Regions from separate parts of the Homo sapiens genome. Here regions 2 and 3 are each linked to region 1. Evidence: promoter capture Hi-C in 16 types of primary human blood cells and fetal thymus (Javierre and others, 2016). All regions are on one chromosome and are shown on one strand. The core of a region is centred on a gene start or on the middle of the fragment in contact, and the rest is flanking DNA. Distances in the headings are between cores, read along the strand shown. Region 1 holds the start of G0S2 (G0/G1 switch 2). Region 2 overlaps TRAF3IP3 (TRAF3 interacting protein 3). Region 3 holds the start of HSD11B1-AS1 (HSD11B1 antisense RNA 1).

Region 1 (4,986 bases), core at 1,177-3,676:
TCAGGCAAGACGGCCAGCTGTGATGGAAGCACATCACAGAGGCACTGAAACCTGGCATAAGAGTTTTAGTCTCAGATGTTTTTGAGTTCAGGAGCAGCAGAATGAAAGATATTAAAGGAAGACAGTCTGACAAGGGATTGTTTAGGGTGAATGTGCTAGAAGGTGCAGGGGGTGGCTTGAGCGGTTGAGAGCCAGACAAGGTGGTAACTGAATGGGTAAAGGAGTAATTAATAAAAGAGGCATTTTGGAAGACCAGCAGGAAGGATAAAATTGAGTCAGTTCCTAGGAAGTTTCTTGGACATTGAAAGTGAGGCTCTGCCTTGGTATAGGGCTGAATTTCCCATTTTGGAAACTGGGAGAGCCATGGTGCCACTGACATTCTTTTCCTTTAAAACTCCAAATATGTTTCTTTTCCTTGATTAATCTTACCACATTCTGATTGCTTTTTTCCTTTGGGAGTGATAAGAATAGATTTCAGAAAGAGATGGCTTTTGATCAGGGCCAGGAACACTTGGTAGGAATTGAGTTGGCAGAAATGAAATGGAGATGTGTGTAGGGCATTGGACGAAGGAGAGAGTCTGAGCAGAGGCAATGGTGTGAGCCAGTGATATGTTTGGCAAAAATGCATAGCTGTTGATGAAAGGAGTAAAGTGTCAGTACCTGATTAGGACAGGTGACATGAAAAATGTGAGGAGACTAGCATCAAGGCCATGCCTCTGGCTCCTGGCTACTTCTTTAAAGTTTAAAATTTGTTTTGCTGAGCCCTATAGAGTCACTGAATTAGCTATTACTACAGATGAAGCTCTGTACACTGGAGGAGGAGGACTCAGATATGTAACAACCGGTTTTTTTCTCTTTCTAGCCCAGAGTTTCTTACTATGATCTGGATTCGTGGGGAGGAAGGCTGGGTAGAGCTAGACTCATCATCTGCTTTGGTGTTCTTGGGAGCTTATCTCTTTTCCTGCCAGGTAGATAGTTTTTCCTTTCTTTCCTTCCCTTCACCTCCAGACCTCCCTCCTTCATTTTCTTTCCTTCTCTCTGTCTGTCTGTCTAAAATATAGTTGGGAAGAAAAAGGTATCAGCCATGGGAACCTCTGGTGCACAGGTGTAAGGAACAAAGAGCTTTTCTGCCTTAGAATTAATCAGTTATCTCCTACTCACTGTAGCTCAGAAGTTGATCTACCTTTTGATGTTAAAATGCTAAATCTCACGGAAGTTATAAAATTTTCTCTCTTCCCACCCCTAACAAGAAGGAAAAACAAGTCCTCAACAGACTTATATGCATGTAGTAACTTATTACACAGTTCCTAGGTGTGAAGCAAGTGTCTGACCCTCAGGAAGCTGCTCCCTCTGCAGTGCTCAGGTAAGAACCCATCACCATCGCCCACCTGCTCACCCTCCCTGCTTCCCACCCCAGGACACCACACCTCTCAGGAATTACATGAGATATGGTATAAAAAGTTTTTTTATTTCAAAATGCAAAATGGTGGTCATTGTAATAATTAATAATAATAACATAAAAAGCATTTATCCTTCCTCCCTAGTGCAAAATGGTAGACGCATTTAGATAATTCACACAGTGTTGGAAATGTCATGACAATGCAGTGCTGCACAGCAGCAAAACTCAATCCCAAACTCCTTTGGTGGATGCTTGTGGTAGGTCAGTTCTAGATGTCAGCGGTTTCTCTGAAGTTAAGTCCAAATAAAAAACAGCACGTGCTCCTGCACTCTCCCAGCGGAGTCAGGCTCCTGTGCGCGCGCCCCCTCTGTCTCTCCATTCCTCTCTCGGTCTGTCTCTGTCTACTGCGTCTCCCTCCCACTCCGCTGGTCTCCCACAGTTCCTAGGAGGCGTGCTGCCGGTTGGACAGGGCCCGGCCGCCGAGGACCGTGTCCTGCTGCTTGCCTTTCTCCTGCAGGGCTTGCTTCTGGAGAGCCTGTCGCTCCAGGGCGGCCTGCAGCTCCGCCACGGCTGCCTCCTGGTCCCGCAGACGTCTGGCGGCCGTGAAGGGGCTGCACACAGTCTCCATCAGGCCGAGCACCACGCCGAAGAGGGCCAGCACGCTGCCCAGCACGTACAGCTTCACCATCTTCCCCTTGCGCTTCTGGGCCATCATCTCCTTGGCCAGGGGGATCAGCTCCTGGACCGTTTCCATCTCGGCTCTGGGCTCTCGGAGGCGGGAATGACCTGCAGGAGGAGCAGCAGGAGAGGGGCTTCAGCCACCAAAGAACGGCTCCCACCACCCCGCACCCAGCTAATCTTGGGGAGGGCTCATAGAAAGGCGGACTACCTTAGTGGCACGGCGCGAGCAGGAGGCAGCGCGAGCTGCAGTTGGCAGCGGTCAGCGCGTCCGTTGGTCCGACCGACCTCAGCGTTCTCCTCCTCTCGGCAGCTGCAGCTCTCCCAGTTGGAGACTCCGCCGCTGGCACCGCTTTAGCGTCCGGGGGCCGCTTATATCTTTTCTCTGAGACACGCCTCCTGGGCTCTCCGGCCCAGGCCAGCGCGGTCAGAGCCAGGGGAACTCGGAGGGGGAGGAAGAAGAGGAGGGGAAAAGGAGGGGGTGGAACCCGGCTGGGACCTGGCAGGAGGTGGCCACGCGCTGAGCACGCTCCGACTGTGTGAGCTAGGGGGCCCGGCGCGGGTGCCATCGCAGCGGGGCGCGTGGGAAGGCCAGTGTGCACGCGAAGGTCCCACTCCAGGCGAGCGCAGGGGAGGACCCGGAGCCCAGGGAGGTGTCCGCGGACATCTCTGACATGGCGGCAACCTTCTTACTGGTGTCAGCGGGTGCACAGCTTCCCTTGTCCAGGACAGCCTGACATTATAAATAATGAGGGAATTTGGGGGTTCCATCTAAAGAAGAAAGCTTTCATTTTTATTCGGAAGGGTTGTCACCTTCCCACGTGTGTGGCAATGGATCAGAGAGGAGAAGGCAAGGGGGAAGGATCTGGGTAACAGGACAGAACAGGTTACGCTTGGATAAAGCAATATGTGCTAATATTGTTTCTTTCCTGCCTGGTTGGTTTTATTTAGAGGTACATGCATGTATAACTAGAGTCAGTTGATAGAAAACTATTCATTGATGGTGCTTTTATGCACAGAGGTGTGTGTGTGTGTGTGTGTGTGTGTGTGAGAGAGAGAGAGAGAGAGAGAGAGAGAGAGAAAGAGAGAGAGATTAGTCTCTTTGCCTGCGAGCTGTTTCCTTATGTACTTCCGTGTATCAGGGAAGAGCCTTCAAATTCAAATTGTTCTCACTTCCACTTGAGAAGTGGAGTTGGGAGCTTGGGGGTAGGGGGTCAAGTATGGAAGGGGCTGTTGGTAGAAGTTCATCTGCCATTTTAGAATGGAAGTATTTCATGCTCTCCTCAATAATTCTCTGCCACCCTCCTGGGTTTGGGGGTACAACTTCACTGCTCCAGCTCAACTTCAGCTTTGAAGCAGTTTGTGGGCAGAAGGGCGTGTAGTAGACAGCTTAGGTAAGAATCCAGAGTGTGAGTACTCTTGGACGTGTGAAGATGTAGGATTGATTTTGACCAGGGTTAGCTGTAATCACCTGGGGCTGAGGGAGCGTTCTAGTTTGGCTTTGGTTATGGATATGCTAGAGTTAGCAAACTTGGGGAAAAAGAGAGGCAAATTGGCCAAAGGGTTAGCAAACTTGGGGAAAAGGAGAGGCAAATTGGCCAAAGGCCTTTAAGCAGAGAAAGGGAGGGGGCAGGGGAAAGAAGGGGAAATCAAACTGGCCAGAAAATTGCAAAGGTCAGTGATGCAATCTTGCAACAGCCTTTGCAGTCGGTCGGACTGAGCCCTGAAGGGCGGGTCGGGGGAAAAGGCTGTCTCAGGGATCAAATATTTTAGTTTTTGAATTGTTAACAGTAATCTTTCTTTGGGGGTCTGAAGCAATTTCTCAGATGATTCAGTTTAAAAAGGCAGCAATAACAACTACCCTTTGCCTTGACTATTAATAGTTCAGGCAAGGGCTTGTGTGTGGAGAATGGTCAAGGTTATCTAAATAGCTTATTTGAAATTCTATGTTTTAGAATTTAGTCTGAGTGAAGGTGACCAGGGGCCAAATAGAATTGATTATTCCTGGAGGACTGTGTTTCCTGCTTATTGTTCTTTTAACCTTGTCAGGCAGGAAAATTCTGTAACAAGGGTTCCTGCCAAGTTTAATATCAGTCTTGGCATTTTCTTTGAATCTTCCTTATAGTTTCAGAGCAACCTCTGATAACTGGCAGAAATGATTAGTGAGCTTTCCCAATATCTGTGAGGGTTCCAAACCCATTGACTTCTGGAAGAGCATGTGATGTGTGCCCTGATATAAGGGCTGTCACGTGGTTTCCATTCTGAAGGTGAGTCAGCCTAGCTTGGGACCCAAAATTCTGAAATTGACTGGTCCAGTAAGCATTTCCTGTGTTTCTGTAACTCAGAGACGCAAACCACACGTCTTCCTAGGTCAGAAGGCTGTAATTTACCTGGGGTTCCCCTTTCCTGTGATTTGCTGTGTTAGTGCACATCACCAGCTCAGTTCCTTTTTTTGATAATTTGACTTTGACCTCCAGGTTCCAGCAGCTATATTGGTAAGAGCTGGACAGAGGAGGGGCAGCAAGTGCCATGGACGGAGGTCACTGGTAGACTTGATCTTCCTAGTTTAGGTGGTAGCTGGGGCTGAGCAGGAGATGATGGGAGTAGAAGGCTAAGGAATCCAGTGTTAACTCATGTCTAGGAATTTCTGAGTGCAGCTCCTCTGTCTGGGTGGGAAAAGAGAACCTGGCTCCTAGGGTAGAAGGTGACTAGGTAGGGCTTGGAAACTAAACATATATTTTAGTGGGGCTGATGTCATTTTTAGGGAAGTAAAGCACTGTGTTGTGTCATGCATGCAGGTAAGATACAGGTTATAGCGATGATGGTCAAACCAAGCCATAGGGTGACCAACCATCTTATTTTGCTCAGGGTTGAGGGGTTCTCTGAAATGCAGGACTCCTGCTAAAACT
Region 2 (4,986 bases), core at 505-3,004, 110 kb before region 1:
TCTCCTCTGAGATAGTCACACTGCCGGCTGTGGCCCTCTGACTTTAACTCTCCTCCCATATAGAAGGTACTCAGTAAATGATCATCTCTAGGTTGGGGATGGCAAATAATCATCTCAACTGCCAATTCCAAGTGTCTTGAATACACTAAGGCACAATGCTGTAGATCAGTTGGCCACAAATGCAAAGGGCATGTAAATAGGTAATGGTGGTGCTAGTAGCAAATTGGTAGATAGTACATACTTGCCATTTCTATACTAGGAAGTCCTCTTAGTGGAGATGTTTTCATTTTCACTGGATAAAAGATAGAAGGAAGGAGATGATAGAGGAAAAGCAGGGTGATGGAAGACAAGCCAAACACTCTTGCATGGTAACCTTGTAAATATACCTGCTCTATGTGGGTGCTGCATGCTAGGAAAGTAGGGCTGGGGGCTTTTCTGCATGTTTATATGCCTCCAACTGAATTTGAGGAGAGTAGACCACCAGTATGCTTAAATATGTGATACTTGTTAATGTAATACACCATTCAGGAATAAACTGAGAGTTCTGAGGAACAATCTGGTCAGGTGAAGTTTATTTACAGTAGGTTAAGAAATTAATAAAAAGTCAGAAATCCTAAGTCAGTTGGAAAACCCAAGCTGTAATGTACCCAAACCTTCTGAGTTTTTCGCTGAGTTGCTTGCTTCTGATTTTCACCCAAGGCAGTTGTCACAAATTATTCAGATCATCAGGTTGTCTTTATTGGCCAGGAACACTGCCAGTGCTGCAGCAATCACCACCATCAGCACTGGGAGCCATCGCCCACATTGCCTCTGTAGGGGGACAGGGAGACAGAAGAAAGTGGCCATGAGTGGATTGGAAAAGATATAGGCAAAAATCTTTCTTCTTCCTACTCTAGCCCAGTGGAAAACGCTGGGTTGGTGGTGGAGAAAAAGCTTTTTACTCTGTCTCCCATTTTGTCACCTGTCTTGGGATAAAACCACTTAACCAATGTTCTCTGGCCCAGGGAGCCGTATCCATCAGGGACCAGATATATAAATACTGATATGAATAATGAAGGGTGGAAAATAACCCAGCAAAATTATATTCTTTCTTTGTATTCCCCAGTACTTTTGTGTCCTTCTGTTCTTGCCACCATGCTTATCATCGGCTAAAAGAACACCCTTTCATACTTTAGCTAAGAGTAAGTCTTTCCTTCTGGCATTGAGAGTTCTGTGAAAGTTGGGCTTTGATGGACGAGCCAGTGTTTTTTTCAATGGTTGCCATAATGTCAGTATAGTATAAACCAAGCACAGTGGGACAGGATGGCCAGTTGTTGGCGTGGGCTGATATATTTTATGTGCAAAACTTGGTTAAAGAAGGAATCGTCCCATCATCCAGGGCTTTATGGGAAGGAGAGACCCTCTTACTCTGGGAGGCAGCTGCTGGCTCTGGTTCAGCTCTTCTCGACAGTGCTGCAGCTTACGCAGGCAGGAGAGATACTCGTCACTGAGGTTGTCTAATTCTGAATGCAGTTCTCTGCACTGGGGAGAACATCACCAAAGTCATCACTGTCACTTCTGTCTAGGACAGAGCCCAGGCAGGGGAGACTGCCCTTTGTAAGTTTCACTCATTTGGAATTTTTACCACCATCTTCCCTTCCCAGCCATTCTCAGGGATTTGAGTTTGTCTTTTGACTGTCTTACATTGTCTGGAATGTGTTCATTTAAATGATTGACAGTAATGCATATTATAGTATTACATTTTATACATTTAAGTTCTTTTATATGACTTTACGTGCAAGTGCTTTGCAAATGAGAGACACCGAAAAATGAAGTTCTTATAGAACAAACGACCTAGAAGTGACCTTAGTACAAGTTTCTTTCCCAGGAGCTAGTTGCATATCAATACTTCTGGGGATGTGTATGTTTGTGAGTATGTACAAAGGAAGAGTTTTACTCTTTAAGAGACATATAAAGACTTAAGATACTCAATGTGGGACGACATATTGAGAAGTTAATATTTTTATTAAATGTGTTTGAGTTTTGGTCGACTTTCTAAAAGGTAATCATTTAATAAAACCTTGAATAGGAGTTGGTATAAATAAGGAAGGGAAAAGATTGACAAGTCAGCCCAAAAGCACAGACACTTTATGTAGGCAAATGAATGTCTGTGGTTATCCACTCACAACTTAAACTTTGAAATCCCTGCTTTTTGACTGCCTCCCAGGTTTCTCTGCTATTTCGCAAATGAGCCCTCACTATCTCAGGTCACCCTCTCACCTCCTTTTCCTTGGCCTGGAGCTGCAAAGTCTTCTTTTGCAGCTGGTCTCTGAGATCCCAGTCTTTCTCCTTCCCTGTACCCTCAGGCTCCACTTCGTTAGGGAAGGACTTTGGACTCCACACGGGCAAAGCCTGATCTAAAAAAGCAGCCAGATTCTTGGTGACAGTGAGGCCCACACCTCTGAGGAAGGGCCCTGAGGGTGAAACCACTAGGAGTGGGGAGAGGGGAGGGAACTTGGGAGGGCGTGCTCTTGGCTAGACTGATGGCATTCTCTGACATAAAGGTTAACTTCCAGTAGGCCCCTGCTAAGCTTGGACAGACAGCTGGAATCTGAGCTCCTTGAGGGCAAGATTGGGATCTTTTCTTTGTATCCCCAGTCTTATCTAGTGCTAGATAGTTTTAGTGAATACTTCTTAATTGAATTTCATTGGTTGTATGTCACATTCTTCCTAGTTTGTCAAATAAGTTTGGTAAATGCTTTAATACAATCCCTTTTCCCTGATGTCCTCATTTGAAAGTTGTGAAGATGGCAGTCATATCCTAAAATTTATCTTCATATGGTTAAAGATGGTTTTTTAGCCACCCTGCAGTCTTAGTCTTGGTGAAAAGAGCATGGACTAGGAGTCAGAAGTTTTGGATTGTTGTTATAGCTGTGTTGTTAGTTTGTGTCACCATAGACTTTCATGTTCTTATCCATACTCTGTGAGCATAAAAATTTCTGCCTTATCTATTATATTATGCCCAATGATTGTGAAGAGAAAACAAAAGGTCGTGTGTAGTGGACAGGTGAGGAGCTATTGCCCCTCTGTATACACAGTGAATTCTCAGGAAACATGGACAGTAGACTCTCTAGGGCTAACAGTGAGTTGACTCTGGACTGCTATGTGGTTTGGGGCTGGGGAGTTGGATGTGATTTGGAAAATCAAGTGTGTAAAAATTGACATGAAATCCTGAGTTCAAAATAAATTTATTGAAATGTTCAACACAGACATGTGCTTTCAGAGAGAATAGAAACCCTTTTTCACAGTTTATATACCTCAAGATAGAAGGCTAACTAGTTGAAGTGTCCTCAGAGCCAATGATCAGTCCTTAAAAAGCTCCCACACATCCCGGACTTAACAGACTCCCAGAACTGGCTGGGACTCCAGGAGGTCATGTAGTCCATCCCGCTGCCTCTAGGCAGGTAAGAGAAGAGCAATATCTTAGAATTTGTGGTAATAAATTTGCTGACCTTTCTTTGTTAAGAGTTTCTCCTGTTCTTGAAGCTGTAAGGATTGATTTTGAAGCAAACCTGTTGGAAAACACAAGGAACTTGTCTATGCTAGCATATTTACTACAAAAAGTTTTCTTTTCAGAACTTTGCTTAGAACCTTGGTTATTAAATATGTTCCCATCTGCTGTGTGTTGAATTTTGTCCCCCAGAATATATATGTTGAAGTCCTAACCCTCAGTACCTTAAATAATGACCTTATTTGGAGATAGATTCTTTAAAAGATAATCAAGTTAAAATGGGGTCATTCAGGTGGGCCCCAATCTAATATCACTGGTGTCCTTATAAGAAGGGGAAATATGGACACAGATATGTTCATGGGAAAGACAATGTGAAGAGACACAGAGAGAAGACGGCCATCTACAAAGCCAAGGAAAGAGCCCTGGGATAGATCTTTCCCTAAACGCCCTCAGAAGGAAACAACCCTGCTGACATCTTGGATTTCTAGTCTCCAGAACTGTGAGACAATACATTTCTGTTCTTCAAGGCACCCAGTCTGTGGTACTTTGCTATGAATATAGCATCCTTATATCTCCCCCTACCATGTCTCTATCTTCAAGTCTTTGCTTGAAGATTTTCCCTTTTCCCTGTGGTTGCTTTGCTCTCTTAATAATCATTGCTGCTTTCATGAAGCTTCTCTATCAGGTGTCAGAGGTTAAAGTGGTGGGCAACCAGCAGCTGTATTAATTGAGTCAGGTTCTCCAGCTTTTCAGAAACTGCTTTTCTTCTGAGAAGTCCCTTTTCCTCTTTGGGCCCAATATGTAGTTTTGAAGTGGATTGAGGCACGTATAGTGTAAGCTTATTTTCTAAACCATCTCTAATGACAGGTCTATGTGACACATTCATGTACATAAATTAGAATATATAAAATAAGAACTGCTTTAGGAAACCCAGTATTTAAAAAAAATCTGCAGTTCTAGGGGAAATGTAAGTGGTGTCATTGGCATGGAAGGAGAACAGTAGAAAAAAAAGAACAGAGGCTAACACATAATTTATGGAGAGCTATGTAAATGACCTCACTTTACAAGAAGAGGGTCTGAAAGTGCACAGAGTTAGAGCATATGCCAAAGACTGGGCCCTTAGTCCCTACTCTGGGTGCCTTTTGTGGGCCAGGACCCCAGGAAAACCCTGTGGACTTTCAGAATCTGGAAAGCGAACTTACCCTGCAACTGCTGTACTCTGGTCACCAGGGTGAGTTTCTCTGCCTCTGACCTTTTTAGTTGATCTGAAAATGCAATAATGCAAGCCAAAATAAAGGAACCCAAGACTTAATGAACTCAGTACTTAGGATGGAAATTAGTAATAGATGCTGTCTTGTCATGGTCTTTAACGTGTGTCTATTGGAAGTTGCTCTATCTTCGTGTCCCAGTTCTGAAGAGGTAAACCAGAAGCCAAGTACCTCAGGTTTTTGTGCATCAACAATGTTGGGTTGCATTGAGGCTTGTGTTTACACACT
Region 3 (4,986 bases), core at 1,078-3,577, 66 kb before region 1:
AAGGGAACAGTGGCCACATGCCATGGCTGTGGGCCGTGAGATGTAAGCTGAAGTCTTTGGATGGGGCCTCCCAGTGTGCTCATTATCAGGGGTCAGAGTCAGCTGGTGTGCATCCTGTACCCTTCACCTTCCTCCTTCTCTTGCCAGAAACACTGAGTGATGCTGAGGGTGGGGCCACTGTCTTGTGAACATCCAGCAACAAGGAGGAGGATGGAGAGCTGAGTGGAAAGACAGAAGGAGCCCAGGTCCCCGAAGGCCCTAGTCAGCTCCACCCAGACTTTTTGTTAGGAGAGGAAAATAAGTCTCTGCCTGATTCAGCCAGCCACTGTCAGACAGTTGGATTTTCTGTTACTCCCAGGGGAATGCAGTGCTAACAAACTTGAAAGTCATGACTGCAGGTCTCACTGACACCTTGGTCAAGGCTGTTGACTTCATGCAGGATGCTGATGCCCTTAGAATGGAAGAGTGTGAGCATCCCATGTCTTCAGGAGCCCTTGCTGCCTCTCCTTCCCTGGCAATTGTATTATAGAATGTAGATATCTTGTCACTGCTAGTCAGCTTGGCCACGCTTGCTGACAGAAAAAAAAAACAACAAAAAACAGAAAACGCCAATTTGACTCATGTTATCAGAGTTTGATTTCAAGTCCTGGAGGAGGAGAGAGTGAACTGTCTCCTTAAGAATAACGAATTCTGTCAGGAATGTGGAAAGTGAAAGTCATGATGATGTGCTGGAGCCAGTACACAGGCTTGAGAGAGCCGGGGGTGTCCATCTCTTCCCAATCCACATGCCGTGATGTCCTGTTGGTGACTCGAAGTTGGCCACAGTAAGAGTCTTTACATCATAGATACAGGCAAATGCTACAAATCAGCGAATTAAGGCTTTGTTTCTTCTTTTTCTGGAGAGTTAGTTGTTAAACATTTGTCAGCACAGCCCTGGAAAAGACCAAAGTTTTCGTTTAATATTAACTCATAGATACTGGCTATTAGTTTTCATATCTTCTGCTCCCCTAATGCTATGGAGGGGTGAATAAGCCCAAAATTAGCAGAATCAGAGAAAGGCTGCTTTATCCTGAACACGGGCTGAAACCTTACAATATCTTTGGGCCTAAGAAGAACTCTTACATGTTCAGACTAAAGGCAAAAACTAATTTTAACTTGACTTTGGCTATCAATTTGTCACCTGACCATGTTTCTGTCTCTGTACTCATTTCCTCACCTCCTAATCAGCCCTCCCACTCCTGTCCTCTTGACAATCTGCAGGGCCTTGGCTCCTGCAAACCTGCCTTCTTCCTGTGTTTATGTGACCCTCAGAAGCTCCTGATTCTGGGTCTGGTACAACAGTTTATCACTTGCATCTAGATACCTCATGATCTTCTCTGGCCCACACGTATGTGCCAGGTGCTCCTCTAGGTGCTGGGGGCACACTGAACTAAACAGAAAAAACTCCTGTCCTCATGAAACCAACATTCTAGCAGGGGGAATGTGGCAGATGGTACTTTCTAAAGATGGCTGCAGCAATTTTTAGCCCATCCATCCCACATGCTCTTCTTACAATGTGACAATGACAGTCCTCCATCAACAGGTGGGGTCTGTATTCCTTTTCCTTGAAATGAGGTGCATCTTCAGAAGTGCTTCGACCAAAAGTGTATGGTCAGTCCTGAAAGGCAATATAGCTTCTGCCTGGCTCTTTCTCTTGGGACACTTGCCTTTGGAGATCTCAAGTCCTCCAAGCAGTCTGGCAACCCTAAAGCTGCCATTCCAAGTGACCATGTGGAGAGATCACACAAAGATGAGAGAGACTCCTGCTGTGCCCTCCCTGCTTAGCTCCAGGTGCCCAAGGAGCCAGGCACCTAAAGTGCCCTACCTGTTTCAGAGTCCAGCTGTTCATGTCTTCCCAGGGCAGGCACAATCACGCTTTTAGGTGATTCTAGTTCCTGACCTTTGAGCCACCCAATCTTGCTGAGTGGAGCAGAAATTAACTATCCCTGCTGAGCCTGCTCAGACTACAGATTTGCAAGCGAAGCGAATGTCATTTTATGTTTTAAGCCACTGAGTTTTGGGATGATTTGTTATGTCACCATAGTAACTGGGACAAGGACAGATAATAAACAAGATAAATGACCAACAATATAGATAATAATAAGTACTAAGGAGAAAAAACAAGCAGGGAAGGCAGACATAAAATTTCAGGGCAGGCCTGGCATGGTGGCTCATCCTTGTAATCCCGGCTCTTTGGGAGGCCAAGGCGGGTAGATATCTTGAGTTTACGAGTTTGAGAACAATCTGGGCAACATGGCAAAACCCCGTCTCTACAAAAAATACAAAAATTAGCCAGGCATGGTGGCACATGCCTGTGGTCCCATCTCTCTGGAGGCTGAGGTGGGAGGATTGCTTGAGCTCGGGAGGTAGAGGTTAGAGTGAACTGTGTCATGCCTTGGCACTCCAGCCTGGGTGACAGAGAGAGACCCTGTCTCAAAAAAACAAAACAAAAAGAACATTTCAGGGTGGGTTTGAAATTTTATTTAGGGTGGCTAAGGAATGCTTCATTGAAAAGGCAACCTAAAAATTTTTTTTTTAATTTCCATAGGTTATTGGGGAACAGGTGGTGTTTGGTTTCATGAGTCAGTTCTTTAGTGGTGATTTGTGAGATTTTGGTGCACCCATCACCTGAGCAGTATACACTGAACCCAGTTTGTAGTATTTTATCCTTCACCCCCTTCCCACCCTATTCCCCTGAGCCCCCAAAGTCTGTTGTGTCATTCTAATGCCTTTGTATCCTCATAGGTTACCTCCCACTTAGGAGAGAACATACGATGTTTGGTTTTCCATTCCTGAGTTACTTCCCTTAGAATAATAGTCTCCAATCTCATCCAAGTTGCTGTGAATGCCATTAATTCATTCCTTTTGAAGGATGAGTAGTATTCCATTGTGTGTGTGTGTGTGTGTGTGTGTGTGTGTGTATATATATATCACAGTTTCTTTATCCACTCGTTGACTGATGGGCATTTGGGTTGGTTCCACATTCCTGCAATTGTGAGTTGTGTTGCTATAAACATGCATGTGCAGATATCATTTCTGTATAACGACTTATTTTCCTCTGGGTAGACACCTAGTAGTGGAATTGCTGGATCAAATGGTAGTTCTACTTTTAGTTCTTTAAGGAATCTCCGCACTGTTTTCCATAGTGATTGCACTAGCCTACATTCCCACCAGCAGTGTAGAAGTGTTCCCTCTTCACCGCATCCATGCCAATGTCTATTATTTTTTGATTTTTTTGATTATTTCTTCAGGAGTAAGGTGGTATCACATTGTGATTTTGATTTGCATTTCCCTGATCATTAGATATGTTGAGGATTTTTTCTTTTTCTTTTTCTTTTTTTTGAGACAGAGTCTCATTCTCTTGCCCAGGCTGGAGTGCAGTGGTGTGATCTCGGCTCACTGCAACCTCCACCCCCCAGGTTCAAGTGATTCTCCTGCCTCAGCCCACTGAGTAGCTGGGATTACAGATGCTGCCACCATGCCTGGCTAATTCTTGTATTTTTGGTAGAGATGGGGTTTCACCGTGTTGGCCAGGCTGGTCTTGAACTCCTGACCTCAGGTGATCTACCCAACTCAGCCTCCCGAAGTGCTGGGATTACAGGCATGAGCCACCATGCCTGGCTGATGTTGAGCATTTTATTCACATGTTTGTTGGCCATTTGTATATCTTCTTTTGAGAATTGTCTATTCATGTCCTTAGCCTAGGAAAAGGCAACTTTTTGAATGAATCTGAAGGAAGTAAGGCAGCTGGCCATGTGGTATAGAGAAGTAGAAACATATTTTGCATGCTCTGGAATAGATAGGAGGCCAAGCGAGGCCTCTTGGAGTGCTTGAGCAATGAGGGGAGAAGAGAAGGAGATGCCGTCTCAGAGCCAATGAGGACCGAGATCATGTAAGATTTTTAGGTCTCTGTAAGGACTTTGGCCTTTACTCAGAATGAATGGGATAATTATGGGTTTTGATGGAGGTATGACTTGATTCTGTTTTAATTAGATCACATTTGTATGTCAGGATTCCTGGAAGTAAAATTCTGGGTCAAGGAATGTGTATCCCTTGCCTTGCTTCTCTTTGTGGCCCAAGATTATGGTAATATTATAATCATAACATTATGATAACATCATAATCTTGGGCCACCAAGAGAAGCAGGGCAAGGGGTACATATCCCTGTATTAGGGATCCCTAATACAGGGATTAGGTTCCTAGGGCTGCCAAAGAAAGTACTTCCTCTATTAGGTTCCAAAGGCTGCCAAAGAAAGTACCACAAACGCAGTGGCTTGAAACAATAGAAATTTATTGATCCACAGTCCTGGGGGCTAGAATACTGAAATCAAGTTGTTGACAGGGCCACACTTCTACTGCAGCCTGTAGGGGAGAGGGCTTCCTTGCCTCTTCTTGCTTCCTGATAGGGGTTTTCAAGCCTTGGTGTCCTTTGGCCTGCAACTGCATCACTTGCATCTCTGCCTCTGTCATCACAAGGTGTTGTCCCTGTGTGTCTCTGCCTTTATGTGGCCTTCTTCTTAAAATGATGCTAGTCATGTTGCTCACCTGAATCCAGTGCAACCTTGTCTTCACCTAAGTAATTATATCTGGAATGATCTATTTCCACATAAAATCATGTTCTGAGGTTTTAGGGATTAGAGACTTAATATGTCTTTTTTGGGGACACGGTTCAACTTGCAACACTGCCAGTTTGAGAATCACAGGTGTATTCCTTGGAAGAGAGCTGTTCCTAATTTTCTCAGGTCTTACAATAGTGCCTTATGCTAGTTAGCTTCCCCATTCCATTCACATGGAATCCACACATCCTCATTCCATGAGTGTGTGTGTGTGTGTATAACTTATTAACATAAATGGAATTATATTATGCATCTTTTTAAGCAACTTGTTTTATACACTTAACAGTATGCCTTGGAATTCCTTCCATGGATGTACATATAAATTGACTTG

The links. The method cuts DNA at HindIII sites, captures the fragments that hold promoters and counts their contacts. A CHiCAGO score of 5 or more calls a contact.
Region 2: a contact is called between a fragment that was not itself captured here and the fragment with the promoter of G0S2 in region 1, in 2 of 17 cell types (neutrophils and monocytes). The highest score is 8.8, in neutrophils.
Region 3: a fragment that was not itself captured here is called in contact with the fragment with the promoter of G0S2 in region 1 in 2 of 17 cell types (neutrophils and monocytes); the score reaches 11.0 in neutrophils.

What each region holds. Positions count from the first base shown.
Region 1 is chr1:209,672,852-209,677,837 of GRCh38, reverse strand. G0S2 (G0/G1 switch 2) reads right to left here and starts at 2,426. Exons shown (of 2, transcript NM_015714.4): 1 at 2,289-2,426; 2 at 1,448-2,185. The coding sequence starts at 2,153. The coding sequence ends at 1,842. All of the region lies in intron 1 of HSD11B1-AS1 (HSD11B1 antisense RNA 1), which reads left to right. RefSeq lists enhancers at 1,466-2,314, 4,595-4,834. The HindIII fragment of the contact is 4,554 bases long and covers 1-2,863 here.
Region 2 is chr1:209,777,880-209,782,865 of GRCh38, reverse strand. TRAF3IP3 (TRAF3 interacting protein 3) reads right to left here. Exons shown (of 17, transcript NM_025228.4): 13 at 4,693-4,755; 14 at 3,492-3,551; 15 at 2,260-2,396; 16 at 1,408-1,521; 17 at 556-810. The coding sequence ends at 718. It overlaps C1orf74 (chromosome 1 open reading frame 74), which reads left to right. Exons shown (of 2, transcript NM_152485.4): 2 at 1-3,658. The coding sequence ends at 41. Among named protein-coding and RNA genes, the nearest start is that of C1orf74, 4.2 kb to the left of the region's middle. RefSeq lists a silencer at 4,796-4,986. The HindIII fragment of the contact is 1,637 bases long and covers 936-2,572 here.
Region 3 is chr1:209,738,335-209,743,320 of GRCh38, reverse strand. It overlaps HSD11B1-AS1 (HSD11B1 antisense RNA 1), which reads left to right and starts at 759. Exons shown (of 3, transcript NR_134510.1): 1 at 759-824. The HindIII fragment of the contact is 5,906 bases long and covers 1-4,986 here.